Regions from separate parts of the Homo sapiens genome. Here all the other regions are linked to region 2. Evidence: promoter capture Hi-C in 16 types of primary human blood cells and fetal thymus (Javierre and others, 2016). All regions are on one chromosome and are shown on one strand. The core of a region is centred on a gene start or on the middle of the fragment in contact, and the rest is flanking DNA. Distances in the headings are between cores, read along the strand shown.

Region 1 (3,799 bases), core at 243-2,742, 1.0 Mb after region 2:
GCCTGCGTCGTGGGGGATGATATATGGGCGGGCACAGGAGAGAGTGCGGGCGTGGACATGTGTTCACGCCCGGACACACACACACACACACACACACACACACACACACACAGAGCCTGGCACGGAGGTGGGGAAGCAGAGGGCAAGGCAGGCTCTAAACTGGAACCTGAGGGAACAGAGACAAGAGCAGGCCCGCCGGGGCATCTGCTTGACTCCAGCGGCGCGCGTCAGCTAGCGGCTTGGATAAAGTCCAGTGCAAGGATCAAACTCCCCCCACTTCCCCACCCCCCGCCTCTCTCCCTTAAAAGCAGGAGGCTCCGGTGTATGCACTCACACTGGCTTGAAATCTCCCTCCCTCCCTCCCTCCATGGTATCTAGCAACCCCCTGCCCAAAACTGGGAAAAGGCTCTCGACAGCTATTAATGTCCTCCTCGAAGTCTACCTTAAGCCCACCTAAATTGGTTTCCTACCATAAACACACTTTACAACGGCCCAGGAAATCTTATAGGATGTATAAACCTCTTCGAATGCTTATAAAGTAGCACATAAAAAGGCGCAAGCAGAGGGAGGCCTCCGCCCCCCCCCCCTCCCCCGCGGCCCCCGGGCCCACCGCTTGCCCAGTACCCGGTGCCTACCTGCGCTGCTGCTCTTCTCGGCCCCCGCCTCTCCCGGGGGGCCCTCGCCGTCGCCACCGCTGCCTTCTGCTGCCCCCTTGGGCTCCGAGCCAGGGGTCGCCTTGGTGCAGGGACTGCCCCCGCCGCCACCAGCCCCGGTCCTGGGGTCGCCCTTGTCGGCTGCGCCCTCGGGCTGTGGCGGCGCGGGTGGCGGCGGGGGCTGCGGCCCGGCGAACGGGGGCCCGGGCGCTGCCTCGTAGAACTGGTCGAAGCCCTGTGGCAAGATGCCATTGCGGCCCACCGCGCTGTAGAAGTTGGAGGCGGCGCCCGCGGGGCCGTGCGGCGGCCCCGGCGCAGCGCACACCGGCTCAGGCGCCTTGAAGAGCACGTCCGGCCGGCGGCCCGCGGGCGGGAGAAGCTCGCGTTGCATGGCCGCCTCCTCGGCCGCCGCGGCCGCCGCAGCCGCCGCCGCCGCCGCCGCGTAGTAGGGAGCGTAGCCCCCCGCGCCGCCGCCGCCCCCGCCGGGGCCGCCCCCGCTGCTGCCGCCCCCCGCGCTGCCGCCGCCGCCGCCGCCGCGGTACGGCCACTTGGCGCGCTCCAGGCCGTAGTCGCGGAAGGCCACTTCGCGCACGGGCTGGACGTGCGGAGCCAGGTTGGAAGAGTAGGGGAAAGTCATCTGGCAGGACGACGGTTGGGAAAGGAACGAAGGCTTGCTAGCGAAGTCAGACGGGGCCACATAGTAGGCGCAGCCCGGCAGGTACATGCTGGCTGCGCTCTGGCCGCACTCGTCAAAGTCGTTCATGACTCCGCGGCGTGCGCGCCAGCGAGCCTCTGGCCGCTCCCCGCGCAGCCAACCTGAGCCATCGATTGCACAAGAGGCTTGGGCCAGGATCAACTAAGCAAAAATCCCCACCGGGCGCTGACGTGCAATTCATCTTGATTGATTCTGGTGGTAATTATGTCACGTGACGCCATGAAGAGAAATGTCCTTATATCTATATCAACGCTCGCCAACACGCCCCGGGACGGCTCCTGGCGCCGAGACGCGCGCGCTGGGGGCGGATCGGCTGCCCTCTGCCGCCAGCTCTCCCCGGGCGCTCCCTGACCAGGCTGCGCCTCAGGCCGGTCACCTGCGCGCCGCTGGCCGCTGTCACCGCTGGGCGCATCTGCCACCGCCCGAACGGGCCGCCCGCCCGCGTCCGCCCTCCCGCGCCGCTTTAAGTACGCGGACCGAGGCCGGCGGGGAGGAGGAAGGAGGGGGAAGAGGGGGAGGAAGGGGGAAGGGAGAGAAGCAGCGAGCAGAGGGGGGGAAGCCCCGGCTCCAGGCTCCCTAGAAGCTAGGAACTAGGTGTGAGGGTGTGAGGTTCCGAACCCCACCCCCCTTACTGCAGCCGCTCCCTCCCCCGCGACTCTGCCACCCTCTGCAGCTCACCCGCCTGGGAGCTTGTTGCTTCTTGTTCACCGGGCGGGAGTAATTTCGCCACTCTCCAGGGCGCAGGGAGCCCTGATTTACATATTTTTCTGCCCAGCGCGTTCAGAGTGGAGTGACTTGGCTCTTTCCGGTTCTGACCCCAAGGGTGCGAGTGCTGGCCTCGGAAAAACCCAGGCCATTCACCACCTAGGCACTCACCCAGGCCGGGGCCTTCGTGCCCACCCGGCTCTCTTCCCTTCTCTCTGGTTTCCCTCTCTGTTCTTGTCTCTCTTTCTCCTTGCCTCGTTTCTCTTCAGTCTTCTCCCTTCTCTCTCCTGTCTTCACTTCTCTCCTTCCTCTTCTTTTCCGCTTTCCTTCTTCCTTCCTCTTGCTTTCCTGTCTCCCTTCTCCTCTCTCTCTCTGTCCTCTCATCCTCTCCCCTCCTTTCCTCTAAGCTGTGTGTCACTGTCTCTGTCTCTCTCCCCGTTGCCTCTCTGCCTTCTCCTTCAGCACTGAAGCCAGGAGGGGGCTCAGCCCGTGGTCCCCAGCCTCCCTAGAATCTGGGGAGTCTGGTGAACAAAAGGATCTGGAGTCCTACTCTTAGGGTGCTTGGCTTCCCGCTGGCTCCCCACAAGAGACAACCCCCACACACTCGCACCTTCGTCCTCCTCACCCCTCTGCTTTCAGGCCTAGCCTGGGTGTCCGCCTTATACCTAGACCCTTCACTGCTTCGGAGCCCCGCCAAGGCCTGCGAATCCACGCCGCGTTTCCCCGAGGCTCTTCTGGTACCCTTGGGTCTGCATGGTCACTTCAGCCCCTCCCCCAAGATAGGTTGTCTCTCTAAGGGCTCTCAGCGGAGCCTGACTCCCTCCTGGAGCCCCTCTGTGTCACCTGGCTCTGAGGCAGACTCTTCGTGGGGCACCCCATCCACTCCCCCAAGGCCTCACTCTCCTCCCAGCCTGCCGCGACCCTCTCCTAGCCCATGGGTCCAGGCAAGGCCTGGGATCCCACCTCCGAGTGAGCAGACGCTTTTCAAAGGTAAACCGTCTCTTCCCAAACCCAAATCCCAGAACCGAGGGCAGGAGGCTGCCCCTTTCCCCAAGATTCCTCCGCCCAGGCAATCCCAGCGCTGGGGCCTGGGCCTCAGTCCTATACCCAGGGCAGGCGGCGCTGGCTGTGATGCTGGTTCCCTCCCTGGCCCGGGCTGCTGCAGTGCCGGTGCTGTGCGCTCTGCCCACCGTGCGGACAGACAGAGAAAAGGCGGGTGGTCTGAGCTAATATCTATTTTCTGGCTGATGTACCCCCCCTTCCTCTTTTTCTCCTCCCTCCCTTTCTCCCTTCCTCTCTCCTTCCTCCGCCCCTTCCCATGTCTTCTTCCCTCCCCCAACACTGCGCAAATAGGTCTGTGGCGACTGGAGGGCATCGAGCCTCCCCCAACTAGAACTGCCCATCTTGTGTGCTCCCTCCCCGCAGCTGGCACCCCCGCCCAGATTCCAGCTGACATTCTTCTCCTCAACCCAGACCCCCAGCACACTTATCTGCCTCCCCATCTCCATCCCAGGCCCAAGCCTCTCCCTTTCGGGCTCGTGGTCGACGCCCCTGGATCTCTCTCCTAAAATGGCTCCCTGGACGCTGCACACTGGCCCTGCGGTAGCTCAGGACCCAGGGCAGCTGCGAGGACTTCAACCCGGGTCTTTATGTGTCTGGGGATTCGCAAAATTCTCGCACCTTCTCTCTACTGGCGGCACGGGGTGGGGTGCAGGCAGCCCGGCGC
Region 2 (4,025 bases), core at 1,293-3,792:
ACCCTGATTGATGATAATGGAATTACTTTCTGTCTCAAGTTGATTCTAGAATACTTGTTTGGCCTCATTTGGTCTTTTGTGGCATGAAAAATGTACTTCTTTATTAGATTCAGTCATATAATGGAAGAAATGAGATTCTAAATGTTCATGTTTCCTGGAAGAAGTTGCTACCTAGCTGTGTCTTTGTATAGTTTCATAAAACTATAGGTTGGGAAGGAGACTGGTTTCTGTGATTAACTCTGTTTCTCAGTTTCCATTTTGTAAGTGGGACAGAACTAATCACTCTAAACATCTAGAAATCTTTTAAAACTTTAAAATCCAAATGCTTTACATTCTGTTCCCCCTGCTTTTGTGGTTGTACTGCAGCAATTCTGTGTTTTGGAGCTAGTTAGTAAGCACTTTGAAAACCACTATCACAGTGTTTACCCATTTTGATGAAGCTTTGAGTATCTCGGCTTTGTTTTTTAAAAGCCTATACATGGCATTTTCAGGTGGTCTCCCATCCAATATTAACTGGACCATTCCTGCTTAGCTTCTGAGGTTAGATGAGATCAGGCAGTATGGCCATATATTGGATATCTATGATTTGGCATAGAGGAAGCACTAAAGTACCATTGTACATTTTGGGGATTGATGAGAAAAGAAAACTTTGCCACTATTTTTGTATAAAATAAATCACTGTTAATTGGAGATTGTGGGATTTTGCGATTGGGAGCTAGAGAGTAAAGAGAGATCATTATTTTTATTTTAAATAAATCAATGCTGTTAATTCAGATATCCTATTCAAAAGCTAAGAAAAATTGGAGATTACTATTTATTTCTATCAAGTAACATGAAATAATATTAATTAAGTTTGGTTGATGGGAGGGTTTTCCTCCAGACAATCTGCTAAAGAGGATGTGGCCCATGTCTTGACATCTTGGAATGAAATCCAGAAACTGATAAAATTTTATCATAGTTTTAGTTACTTGTAAAAATTGTTGTGTTAGTAGAAATAAATCTACAAACGCATCCTGGATTTCCACATAGTAATTCGAAGTATTAAAGTAAAAGTGGTGCATCTGGTTGTTCAGGAATTACACTCTTCAGCAATTGAGTGGTGGTGTGATTGTTGGTGTCGTTTGTCCTCACACACCACAGAAGAATGATCTACAAAGCAGATGCTACAGAGGAAATAGGTAGGAGGCAAGGAGGAAAGAAAAGAAGCGTGGTTTACCAATGCAGTCTGAAGAGAAGGGTGAAAGACATCTGAGCCTTTGGCCAAAGAGTTTTGCCAATTCAGGTCTGGCAAAAAGGCATTGTGGGATGTTTGGGGCCCTACAAAGCTGACAGGGCCTCTGCTTTATAGGTCTCATTGGGATGACGTTCATGCATTAAGTGGTTTTGGACTTGAATTTAATCTGTCTTAGAAGGAGGATACATTAACCTTGCTTGAGTCAATGAACTGATGGCTCCAGAGAGCCAGCTGCGGGAGGATGAATTATGGTGTAGACTTGAAAAGTTATCCGACCCACGGCCCGTGGGCTGCATGCGGCCAGGATGGCTTTGAATGTGACCCAACACAGGTGTGTAAACATTATGATATATATAATATATATATATTATATAGTATTTCATTATGGGACTAGGCCATATATATTAGCTGATGAGCAAATATATATGTTATATTATATATTATATATATTATATATATATTATATGTTATATGTTATATATATGTTATATATAACATTATGTTATATGTTATATATATATGTTATATTATATATATTAGCTCATCAGCTATAGTTAGTATTAGGGTATTTTATGTGTGGCCCAAGACAATTCTTCTTCTTCTAATGTGGCCCAGGGAAGCCAAAAGATTGGACACCCCTAGAGGAAGAACCCAGAAGATGGGGAAAGGGGCTGGCTGGAGTCCTAATGCCAGTGCTGCTGACTGCTGGCTGTGTGGCCTGGGCAAGTTCCTTACTCAATCTGTGCTCACTTGCATGTTATATAAAACAAGGAGCTTGATATTGAACTCTGAAACAGTGATTTTGAGGTCATTCCCAAATTTGGGGCATTCTGGTCTCGGGTAGCCTGGCTCTGCAGGGCTGAAGGTTTTGTTTGTTCTGGATGACTGCAGGTACAGTGGCTACAAGCAAAATTTTGTCCTGAAGCTTATGCTTTATGTCCCTGGAGTTCCCCAGGGAGTGCCTATTGACATTAATGCCAAGATTTTTTTTTAAAGCTTATTTTGATATGTTGGTACATTTTATTCCTTCTTAAATTCTAAAACTGTTCATCTGTGTGTACTAGCAGCACATATTCCCTGTGAACCTACTTATCTTTTGAAACTTTAATAGAAAGGAATGCTATCAGTCAGTATTTGAGGTTGATAGGCATTCTGATAAAAAGGAGTTACTTTTGTTCTTGATCTGATTTTTAAGTAATCAAGAAACAATAAAGTTATGCTAACATAATCATCAGGAAACTATCTATAAATAAACTTTGAAATTTGATTTCATGAAGTATGATTGTTAGGCAACTTTATCCTTTACCTTTTCACCATTGGAATTAAAGTATTTACAATCCCCAGAAAATCATATTCTTTCTATAACAGCGTGATACATTATTTATTAAAAACAAGCCATGCTAGTATAGTATCTAACAGTTCTATTGAAGAGATGCTTATTTATTTGAGAAATTTGGAAAACAGTGTGTCTTTACTTGCTTATGTAAAAATGACTAACTGATTAATCATGGGTTTTTAAACTGGTATAGATCCAGAAATGTTTCTTATGAAAAATTCTAGCTTTGCCTGCAAGTTCTTCTTGATCTAACTCTACATATAGAGGAATGGCCAGAAGCTTGTTCAGACCCCTCAGTGTTCCCAAAAGATATCAATTTTGTATCAGCTCATTTAATCACTGATGCCTATGAATATACTTTAACTACCAATCAGGCATATTTGTGTTTCAGGTCACTGCCTAGAAGTACCTGTTGCTCGATTCTTAAAAACTCTTATCAGTTTGAAACAGAGGTGAGCAAACCTTTTCTGCAAAGGGCCAGGTAGTAAATACTTTTGGCTTTCCCATTCATATGTCCTCTGTTGCAACTATTTGACTCTGTTGTTGTTTAGTACAAAAGCAGCCATAGACAATATGTAAATGAATGAACGTGGCTGTGTTTCAAGAACATTTTATTTATGGAGACTGAAATTTGAATTTCATATGTGTCACAAATCATTATTCTTCTTTTGATTTTTTTAACTATTAAAAAATACCAAAACATTTCTTATTTTGTGGGCAGTATGAAAACAGGTGGTAAGGTAAATCTGGCCTGCAGGCCGTAGTTTGCTAGATCCTTGTTTAGAAAATTGAAATTATAAAGAAATGTTTGAAAGACACAACTGATAATTTGTGGTTGGGTATTAAATGTTCACCTGTTTTCCCCTTTTCCTGGGTACATACCTTTAGATTATACCACCAGTCTCCCTCATAGTTAGGACTGGCCATTTGACCAAGTTCTTTTTTTCTTTTGAGACAGAGTCTTGCTCTGTTGCCCAGGCTGGAGTGCAGTGGTGCGATCTCGGCTCACCACAACCTCTGCCTCCTGGGTTCAAGTGATTTTCCTGCCTTAGCCTCCTGAGTAGCATGTGCCACCATGCCTGGCTAATTTTTGTATTTTTAGTAGAGACAGGGTTTCACTATGTTGGCCAGGCTGGTCTCAAACTCCTCCCAAAGGGCTAGGATTACAGGCTTGAGCCACTGTGCCTGGACTCATCTGACCAAGTTCTAGCCACTGGCATGTGGGCAGAAGTGATGTGTTGTTGCTTCCAGGTCTGGCCTATAAAAACCTCCCATGCATGGTCCTCTATGTTCTGTTCTTGTGTGTAGAATATGGAGGGACCTCAAGAAGGAAGGAGGTTGGTGTTTTGGTTTTACATGAGTGAGAAATAAACTTCTATTGTGTTGAGACACTGAGAGTTTCAGAGTTTTTGGTTAGAGCAGCCAGTGTTATCTTAAATAATATGTCATTACTTT
Region 3 (3,543 bases), core at 898-3,397, 1.1 Mb after region 2:
GCCCCAAAGCCGGCGCAATGAGAACTCAGGGAGCTCGGAGCTGGGTGGCCAATGGGGCAGGGGCAGAGGTGGACGCTGGGTCAAGTCCCAGTCCCGGTGCGCTGGATGCCCACTCTGCGTTCCCCGCCGGTTCCCCGTTCCCCCAGGCACCGCCTGCCTATCGAGCTTTCCGTTTATTACCTTAAAGATGTGGAATTGATTTTCTAAGCAAAGCTCGCGTTGTTGAAATAAGTTGGCGCCGAGGGGAACAGAAGATAAACTTTTGGCATTGACTATATGTGTGTATATATGTATATAAATATACTTCACACCTCGCTTCCCCTTACATTCCTGATGCGCCCCCAACGGGTCTAAGGTTAAAAGGAAAGCGCCAAGAGCTATAGGCGAATAGATCTCGAGCTTGCCCCCTAACACACCCCAATGTTCTGGGTGTGTCGGCAGAAAGAAGAGGGGGCCCTGGTTGGGGTTCGGATTGAGGCTAAATGTGGGGATGCAGGACCCGCGCCCAGCGCCCAGATTGTCAGGGTCTCTCAGCCGCTTCAGAAGCTCACGGGCGGACCTCCGCGTCCCATCCCCGTCCTCCCTCGCCTCCGCCTGTGTCCGCGAATCTCTCTCCGGCTGGGCCGTTGGCGGGTGGGCACAGTGCTTGGAGGGTCAGGGAAGGGTGGGCGCAACCGCGGGAGATGAGGAGCGGCCTGGAGTGAAGATTGATCTTCGTTAAAATGGTTGCCACCGGCGTCATTATGACTATCAAAGTTGTCGCCAAGAGGCTCAGCCTCCAAGCCCAGGCCGCAGAGAGCTGCTGTAAGGCTGTTCGGCGACTCTCTGCGCCCGGACCCAACGCTGGGAATACCTGTGGCCGCAGGTAAGGGGCTGGGGTTGATGAGGGGAGGAAAGAGAGAAGGAAGAAAAGCAAAGGGGAAGGGAGGGCAGCGGGGAGGTAGGGGAAGAAGGCTGTCTCCTCTTTCCTCTTTTGACCTCGAAATCCAGCGCCTTTGCCGCAAATAATTCTATTTGAGGAGGGAGGGGAAAATCTGGCAACGTGAGCGTGGATTCGGAGCGCCCGTATGGCGCTGTAAATCTCCACTGTGTTTAAAGTTAGCTGTCGAATTCTGCTATCAAATCGTCCAGCCTAGTTCGTTTCCCCTCAGGAAAATGCGTAGGCGAGAAGGCTTTCTATCAGCAGGATTATAAAAGTAAAAAACCGGGGACTTCGAGTTCAGATCTCACTCTGCAGACGGTGTTAGAAAATCAGAGAGGACCTAATGATTTCCGTTTGGAGGCGCGGGCCCAATGCACCTCCGCGGCCACGTAGCAAGAAAGCGCTTTCAAAACTCTAGGATATTTCTATTTCTCTCTCTCTCTCTCTCTCTCTTTCTCTCACTCCGTCTCCCTCTCCCTTTCTCCCTCTCTCCCTCTCTCCCTCTCTTCCGCTCTCTCTCTCTCCCGGGGTGGGAGGAGAGCATTTAGGCTGAGGTGAAGAAATAGGGAGGGAAAGAACTCCGGCGTCCTATTTGTTAAATAAAATACATATTTGGTTCCGAAATCCGAAAGATAAGTAATCCAGATAGGAGAGGCGCAAGGTCTTCTCCTTACGCAACTCTTCCTGCATCCTCCCCCTTATCTCCCCCCACTTATGCCCCCAGCTTGTAAATGGTAAAAAAAAAAAAAAAAAAAAAAAAAAAAACCAAACCTTCCCGAGGACCTACTCTGGAAAGTCAAACCATTATCTATTATTTAATACGTATCTGTGTCCAAGGAAAAATGAAGAAGGCGCTGCATGATTAGGACCTAAGGGGCAACCTAGCAAACTGAGAGCGTAATGATGCCCCTAAATGAAGGGGGAAATGTGCCGCGGCGCGCTCTATTAATCAGACTGTCAATTTCACCCCCGAGGCCAAACCCCCGGGCGAGCAGAACTGGCTCGGAGCGGGCAAAGGACCGGAGCCTTCCTCCTCACTTGTCTCTTCTCGCCTCCTACCTGGATCTATTTGTCTGCTCTGAAGCTGCCTTCATTACCCACTGACAGGAGGGTGTATTTATTTGCTTATAAACCTGTTACAATAAATGATTATTCGAACAGCGTCATTCGTACCTTAATGACGAGCGGGCGCTACTTTTTGATGAATGACATCTCGGGATCGGAAGGATGTATGGGTCATTTTGACCAGTCATTCCCTCGCTCTGGCATCCCACAATTTTTCCGCCTCCCTCCGAAAGCGATAATAATATTTAGAGGCGTTCGCTGGGGCTGAATGAGAATTAGCCCTAGGCGCAGCCTATCATTAGGACGGGACAGCAGGGCCACTGTGACATTTTTAAGAAAGCTGAGATGATGGAAAGAATAAGAAAAGAGATGATTCTGATGGAGAGAGGGCTGCACAGCCCTACGGCGGGCAAGAGATTCTCCAATTTGTCCAACTCGGCTGGCAATGCTGTGCTCGAGGCCCTGGAAAATTCGCAGCACCCGGCTCGCCTAAGCCCGCGCCTGCCGTCTGCCCCCCTGCACAGCGCTCTGGGAGAACTCCCCGCCAAGGGCAAATTCGAAATAGACACTTTGTTCAACCTGCAGCACACGGGCAGCGAAAGCACCGTCTCCTCCGAAATCTCCTCCGCCGCCGAGAGCCGCAAGAAGCCGGGCCATTATTCAGAGGCGGCCGCTGAGGCCGACATGAGCAGCGACGTGGAGGTGGGCTGCTCCGCGCTTCGCTCCCCCGGGGGCCTCGGCGCCGCTCAGCTTAAGGAAAACAATGGCAAAGGTAACCGCGCCGGCCGCACCGCGCTCTCCAGTCCCATCCTCTTTGCTCCTCCGCGGCCCCCGCCAGCCTTTCCCGGTGCCTTTTCCCCTCTCAGACCCTCCACAGGCAAGCTACACCGAGCTAGCACGGGCGGGGGCGGGACGCATGTCTGGGACCGTGCCTTCCAGTTCTGCTCCTTGAGCTTTCCCGCCAGGCTCAGGCCTGCGGAGCCTGGAACACCAGGCCCACCCGCCCTCGCTCCTGAGTCCGAGAAAATGTTTCTGCGCTCGTGTCTAAGAGCCCGAGCGAGCCGGTAGACCCCTAGTCAGCAGCCGAGTTGCTTTTGGGAAAGGTACCCTGGGCAACTACTCTGAACTCCCCTGCCCCTGTGCCCTCAGGGCTGGAGGGGGCATTCTTCTGGGTAAGTCGGAGGAAGCCTCGCCGGCGTCTCTGTTTAGGTCAGCGGGAGAAAGAGTTGAAAAGTATATTTCACCCCCTATTGGCTTGGGTTTGAGCTACTGCTGTGTTGGAACTCTTAAAATATTTGAAACCCCGAAGACTCAGATAAAGGTTAGAGGCCGTATAAAAAGCTGCCCTGCGGTCTCCAGACCATGGGAAACCCAGAGCTTCCCAAACTGCGCCCAGAGGTAGGCATTTTCCCTCGGCCACTTTTCCTCCTTGGTTGAAAATTTCTAATTATTAAAAAAGAAATCTCCTAATTCCGTTTCTATTATTTGCTTATGAAGGGCTCCCCAAACTTTATTGATTCCATTAACGGCAGCAATTTGTAAGCATGACAGACCCC

What was found. The method cuts DNA at HindIII sites, captures the fragments that hold promoters and counts their contacts. A CHiCAGO score of 5 or more calls a contact.
Region 1: the fragment with the promoter of HOXD11 here is called in contact with a fragment that was not itself captured in region 2 in 8 of 17 cell types (total CD8 T cells, naive CD4 T cells, endothelial precursors and 5 more); the score reaches 9.0 in total CD8 T cells.
Region 3: a contact is called between the fragment with the promoter of EVX2 here and a fragment that was not itself captured in region 2, in 1 of 17 cell types (naive CD4 T cells). The highest score is 5.1, in naive CD4 T cells.

What each region holds. Positions count from the first base shown.
Region 1 is chr2:176,104,973-176,108,771 of GRCh38, reverse strand. HOXD11 (homeobox D11) reads right to left here and starts at 1,492. Exons shown (of 2, transcript NM_021192.3): 1 at 636-1,492. The coding sequence starts at 1,416. RefSeq lists an enhancer at 3,636-3,799. The HindIII fragment of the contact is 7,005 bases long and covers 1-3,799 here.
Region 2 is chr2:177,135,246-177,139,270 of GRCh38, reverse strand. The region is part of intron 1 of LOC105373760 (a long non-coding RNA gene); the gene reads left to right. It also overlaps the pseudogene RNA5SP112. Among named protein-coding and RNA genes, the nearest start is that of MIR4444-1, 75 kb to the left of the region's middle. The HindIII fragment of the contact is 619 bases long and covers 2,233-2,851 here.
Region 3 is chr2:176,082,566-176,086,108 of GRCh38, reverse strand. It overlaps EVX2 (even-skipped homeobox 2), which reads left to right and starts at 2,147. Exons shown (of 3, transcript NM_001080458.2): 1 at 2,147-2,759. The coding sequence starts at 2,333. RefSeq lists enhancers at 1-322, 2,773-3,388. The HindIII fragment of the contact is 15,744 bases long and covers 1-3,543 here.